2 separate regions of the Homo sapiens genome follow, and region 2 is linked to region 1. The links are contacts of gene promoters, found by promoter capture Hi-C in blood cells and fetal thymus (Javierre and others, 2016). All regions are on one chromosome and are shown on one strand. Each heading gives the region's core, a stretch centred on a gene start or on the middle of the fragment in contact. The rest is flanking DNA. Distances are from core to core; before and after follow the strand shown.

The links. The method cuts DNA at HindIII sites, captures the fragments that hold promoters and counts their contacts. A CHiCAGO score of 5 or more calls a contact.
Region 2: a contact is called between a fragment that was not itself captured here and the fragment with the promoter of VNN1 in region 1, in 1 of 17 cell types (neutrophils). The highest score is 6.9, in neutrophils.

The regions. Positions count from the first base shown.
Region 1 is chr6:132,712,589-132,715,625 of GRCh38, forward strand. It overlaps VNN1 (vanin 1), which reads right to left and starts at 1,467. Exons shown (of 7, transcript NM_004666.3): 1 at 1,238-1,467. The coding sequence starts at 1,447. The HindIII fragment of the contact is 10,237 bases long and covers 1-3,037 here.
Region 2 is chr6:132,785,187-132,787,971 of GRCh38, forward strand. SLC18B1 (solute carrier family 18 member B1) reads right to left here. Exons shown (of 14, transcript NM_052831.3): 5 at 2,248-2,395. Among named protein-coding and RNA genes, the nearest start is that of SLC18B1, 12 kb to the right of the region's middle. The HindIII fragment of the contact is 3,512 bases long and covers 1-2,785 here.

The DNA.
Region 1 (3,037 bases), core at 217-2,716:
ACTTAAATATTCTGTTTATTTCCTCCTCTGCCCTAGCTTTCCCCTGCAAACATGATTCCTGCTTCTCAGAAAAAGAGGAGCCACAAACTGGTTACTTGAACTGTCCCATGCCTACAAGTACTGCCTGAGCTAACCTGGGCACCTTCCAATTAGAGAGTCACCTTAAAAAGCTCTGTGACCTTCAAGGAAATAGTTGGACTAAGGATGAAAAAGAACATCAGAACTCCTGATAACCTTTTAAATATTAGTATATATAAGAATATAGGGCAGTCACGGTAGCTCATGCCTGTAATCCCAGCACTTTGGGAGCCCAAGGCAGGTGGATCACCTGAGGTCAGGAGTTCAAGTACAGCGTGGGCAACATGGCAAAATCCCATCTCTACAAAAAATACAAAACTTAGCTGGGCACGGTGGCATGCATCTGTGGTCCCAGCTACTCTGGAGACTGTAGTGGGAGAATCACCTGAGCCCGGGAAGTCAAGGCTGCAGTGAGACGTGATCACACCACTATACTCCATCCTGGGTGACAGAGTGAGACCTTAACTCAACAACACAAAAGAATATATATTTATAGATATATGTAATACACATTTATCCATGACTTTTATCACACTTCATGTATTCCTGGTCTACACCTAATCGATCAATAGCTTTTAAAATAATATTTGTGTAAACCACAATTTATACTGTATGATTAACTTCAAACTGAAACCTTCACTAAACTTAAGGACTCACAATGCATTACATATACTTTTATCTTGTAATTAGAATGAAGTGTGAAGTATATAATGCATGCTGGCAAGGAATTGAAAACTTAAATTTGTTTTCAGATTATAAATTTATTCGAAAACCTGCAAAGCCTTAATAGCACATGAGTACATGAAGGCCACTAATACTCTGAAAATAGCACCTAGTCCCTGACCCATTTATCCTCCATCCTCCATCTGTACCAGAAAAGGGGAACAAAGATGTTGAATTTATGGCCAGTTCCTCAAAGGTCTGCTGCTTCTTGATAATGAGCAAATTGTTCTTTTCTTAACTTTGTTCTTACTTTTAGGGAAGTCCTTGCTCTAATTTTGAGAGGAAAGTAGAATTCTAACTGTAAAATAAAGGTTCTTGGCTACTCTGATACATATATCATCTAAAAGTGTAACTGACCCTGACAGTGGCCCTGTCTCCTAGGACCCCCTCCTTTCTCATAGAATCCAGTACACTGGAGAGATGGTAGAGATGGTACCTGATCTGCTGCTGATGTGATCGCTCCTTCCAAAATGTCCAGATTCCGATTCATTAATGCCAAAGCCTCCTCACGAGACACTGGTGTTAGGGTGGCATTGGGCAATATCGCTGCATGCTCATAAACAGCTGCAGTGAAAGTGTCCTGGCAGCTGGCTCTTGAGACATAGAAAAGCAAAATTGCCACGTAAGCTGGCAACTGAGTAGTCATGCTGAAGTCCAATGAGTGCTGAAAAACAGAGCATGTCCTGGTATTTATAGAAAGAAGACACGTGGTGTCCAGAACTTAGTACCTTAAACTACGGAAGTTAATTAAGAAAACGCTATGATTTCATAGCATTGTTACATAACAAAAGACCCTACCTTATTGCAGTAATTTGTGAAGATTAACTCAAGAACTCTATGTACATTAGTTCGCTAGGGCTGCCTAACAAAATACAATAAACTGGGTGGTGTAAAAAATAAAAAATTTATTGCTTTGCAGTTCTGGAGGGTGGGAGTCCCAGATGAAGGTGTCAGCAGAGTTGGTTCCTCCTGAGGGCGGTGAAGGAAAGATGTGTTCCAGGCCTCTCTCCTTGACCCATAGATGGCTGCCTTCTCCCTGTGTCTCTTCATATGCTATTCTCCCCATGTGTGTGCCTGTATCCAAGTTTTCCCTTTTTGTGAGGACACCACTCTAATCTTTAACACAGGGAAAGGGAAAATCCCAGCTCTAGCTTTTTTTGTCATCGTTGTTGTTTGTTTATTGTTGTTGTTGTTTGAGATGGAGTTTCACTCTTGTCACCCAGGCTAGAGTGCAGTGGCGAAATCTCGGCTCACTGCAACCTCCGCCTCTCGGGTTCATGTGATTCTCCTGCCTCAGCCTCCCAAGTAGCTGGGATTACAGGCGCCCGCCACCACGCCAGGCTAATTTTTTGTATTTTTAGTAGAGATAGGGTTTCGCCGTGTTGGGCAGGCTGGTCTCAAATTGCTGACCTCAGGTGATCCACCTGCTTTGTTTTTATGCCAAATAAGGGCAGAAGAAAAAAGCCAACTGAAGGTCATAAACCCAGGGGTACAGGCTCACTGAAAGACTGAGACTCAATCATAGGACCAATTCGATTTAGTGCCCACTGTACTCCAGTATAACTTCATCTTAACTAATTAGATCTGAAATGACCCCTTTTCCAAAAAAGTTACATTCTAAGATACTGACAGTTAGGACTTCAACATATAAATTTTTGGAATTCATATATTTTGGAATGTCAACACAAGACATTCAAATAATTTTAAAACTTTATTATTATTTTCATGTGAATATTTCAGCTCTACACTTTGATTTACTTTATTTTCCTCAAAATGGGGAAGCCAGGACAAAGAGGAATACAAAAGAGTTACTCATTTTCTATTGCTATATAACAAATTATCCCCAAATTCAGCAGCTTCAAAAAGCAAAAATACATCATCTCCCACTTTCTCTGGGTCAGGAATCCAGGGGCAGTTTAGCTGGTGCCTCTGGCCCAAGGTCTCTTTCACAAGGCTGCAGTCAAGCAGCTGCCAGGGCTAGCTATATCAAGGCTTGACTCCAGGAGGATTCACTTCCGAGCTCCAAGCTCCCTCATGTGGCTGACGGCAGGGATCAAGACCTCATTGGTTGTTGCCCAGAGACATGAGTTCCTAGTGATGCAAACCTCACCATAGGGCAGCCCGCATTATGGTATCTGGATTCCCTTAGAGCCAGACAGCAAGTGAACCCACTGGAGATGGAAGCCACGGATGCTTCGTAATGTAATTGGGGAAGCAACACCTCATCGCTTTTGTT
Region 2 (2,785 bases), core at 85-2,584, 72 kb after region 1:
AGAAACCTGCAATATCTGTTGCCTTCCCCTAAGGGGATGGAGGGCTGGGCACCTGCACAACTGATGTGTATACAAAGGCTGAGCAACTGTTATATGTAGAATATATTTACTATATTCTATGTTCCCTTCTGTAACTTTTGAATTTTGTACCATATAAAATTATTCTGTTTAAAGTTAAACAAAACAATGCTATGGAAAAAAAGGGTTTACCACTATAGATATTGCAACATTTTAAATCAATCTAGTTTTTAGGGACCTTAAACAGAGATCTGTGGCTTGCAGCCTTATATCCTTAGACCTTATAGAGTACACAAAAATATACCATTAATAACTTTCAAAACTTCATAAAGAACATTGAAATTCTTTAATCACAATAAGCCATCCAGATCAATTATCACATTAGTGTGTTAGCTGTTGGCTGCAATTTTATACAGAAACTTGGTACAGCAACATTGGTGTCTCTTGCTGATCAGAAAATCCAATGGATTGTTACCATTATCATAGGAATTTATTAAGTGGCACTTTCCAGAGTGTTCCACAGAATACCAGCTCTTTAAGAGATCAACAAGTCTTGTTTGAAAAAATAGTTACAGCCAGGTGTGGTGGCTCACATTTGTAATCCCAGCCACCTTGGAAGGCCAAAGTGGGAGGATTGCTTGAGGCCAGGTGTTCAAGACCAGCCTGGGCAACTCAGCAAGACCCTGTCTCTACAAAAAAAAAAAAAAAAAAAGAAAGAAAAAAAGAAAAAAGAAAAGAAAGAAAAAAAATGGTTCCATAGTTAAAGTGAGTTGTGGAACATTTAATAAAGTATCCCTACTCCAGGATTTTCAAGGTCTAAAGACATTAATGTGAACTGGGCATCTCTAAGTTAGAGGACAGCAGACAGCCCTCTCCAAACTTGCTTAACCATAAACCCTTATCTTAATGAGCATATCAACAGACGGGTGTTCTTCTGAGCCCTTTCTGAGAAATAAATTTTCTGGAAATGTAAATGGTATGCCGGCCAAATGGCAATAGAACCTACCATAAACCTATCCAGCTATATACATAAATGCTTAATAAAAAGTGGGAAGAACGTGCCGGGCACGGTGGCTCACGCCTGTAATCCTAGCACTTTGGGAGGCTGAGGCAGGTGGATCACGAGGTCAGGAGATCGAGACCATCCTGGCTAACATGGCGAAACCCCGTCTCTACTAAAAATACAAAAAAAAATGTAGCCGGGTGTGGTGGCGGGCGCCTGTAGTCCCAGCTACTCGGGAGGCTGAGGCAAGAGAATAGCGTGAACCCGGGAGGCGGAGCTTGCAGTGAGCCGAGATCGCTCCACTGCACTCCAGCCTGGGCTACGGAGCGAGACTCCATCCCCCACTCCAAAAAAAAAAAAAAAAAAAAGGTTGGGGGGAAGGACTATTTACACCACAAAGGGTTTATCTGATGGTAAAAATTTTCAAACTACATTGTTACATGAGTAAATGAGGGAGTCCTCGGTACTAAGCTGATTAGACTCTGAAGTCTAAGAGAACAATTACATGCTATAAGGGCGCCATACCGACTATGATATGAAGTGCGTGGGCCCAGAGAGAGAGAGAGAGCTACGAGGGGAAAGCCTTCTTGGGGATCAGAGAGGCAGCTGCCTAGAGATGGGATGAGAATCTGATATGTCACTAATACCAGGTCTATACGCATCTAGGCAGTACACAAAAACGCATGTCAATATCATGCCACCAGGATCTGGATTTTTATGTCAAAATGCAAAAGCACTCCTCAGACAGACAGCACAGAAACACTTAAGGACTTTGAGATGATTTCTAAGATCCCGTGCATAAATCTGGGGAAAGTGGAAGAAGGCCTTTAGTATGAATTGATTATTTTGCCACTAGGGATAACTCTTTTCTAAAGCAGAGGAATGCTTCAGGCAGCTCAGCCACAATCTAGGCTACGGGGAGACAGCAAAAAAACTACAAAGGAAAATTTTTTTTTTAAGTGGTAAAAAGAACGACTGATTTGGACCACATTTACCTGTCAAACTGCCCATTCAGGGAATTCTAAAACCAGGAAGAGCACCTAAGTGAAACCAATGTTACATTTATTGACAGGCTTGCTGCTAGTCAAACTCGGGGTGAAAGGCAACAATAATACAGAGAGTAGAGAAATGCAAGTATAGAAGAATGGACCCCAGCTTTAACTTGGAAGGGCAAATATTTTGGCCTACACTCAAAGGAAAGTGGGAAATACTTCTAAAATACATACCAATACCGTAGCCACGTTATTTGGAAAAGCCTTTGCCAGGATAGAAGAAGATGCAGTCATTGCTGCAGCAAAGCTAACTGCATCCATTACTCTCACTAGAAAACACATAGCAATAAATACTGGCCCATCTGGAACTCGGTCCAATACACTAAAAAGGAATAAGACAATTCTGAAATGCCAAGCTGGTTTTCTTTTTTTTTTTTTCCTTTTTAACTGTACTCACTAAAAAGAATAGTACCTCACTCATGGTTTTTAGAATAAACCGCTTTAGAATATGATTTTTTTAAAAGAGTTGCTTTGTTGTCTTTTCAGGAGGAGGAAATTACCCTTTTTCTTTTTTTGGTAACCATTTGAGTCATAATGACAGCTTAGTCGCCCTTTTCTGCTGATATAACTGGTCCCCCAGATAATAGCACTAAATAAACTTTTTTGGAATATGTAGAATCAGCTGGGCGCAGTGGCTCACGCCTGTAATCCCAGCACTTTGGGAGGCTGAGGCAGGCAAATCACGAAGTCAGGAGATCGAGACCATCCTGGC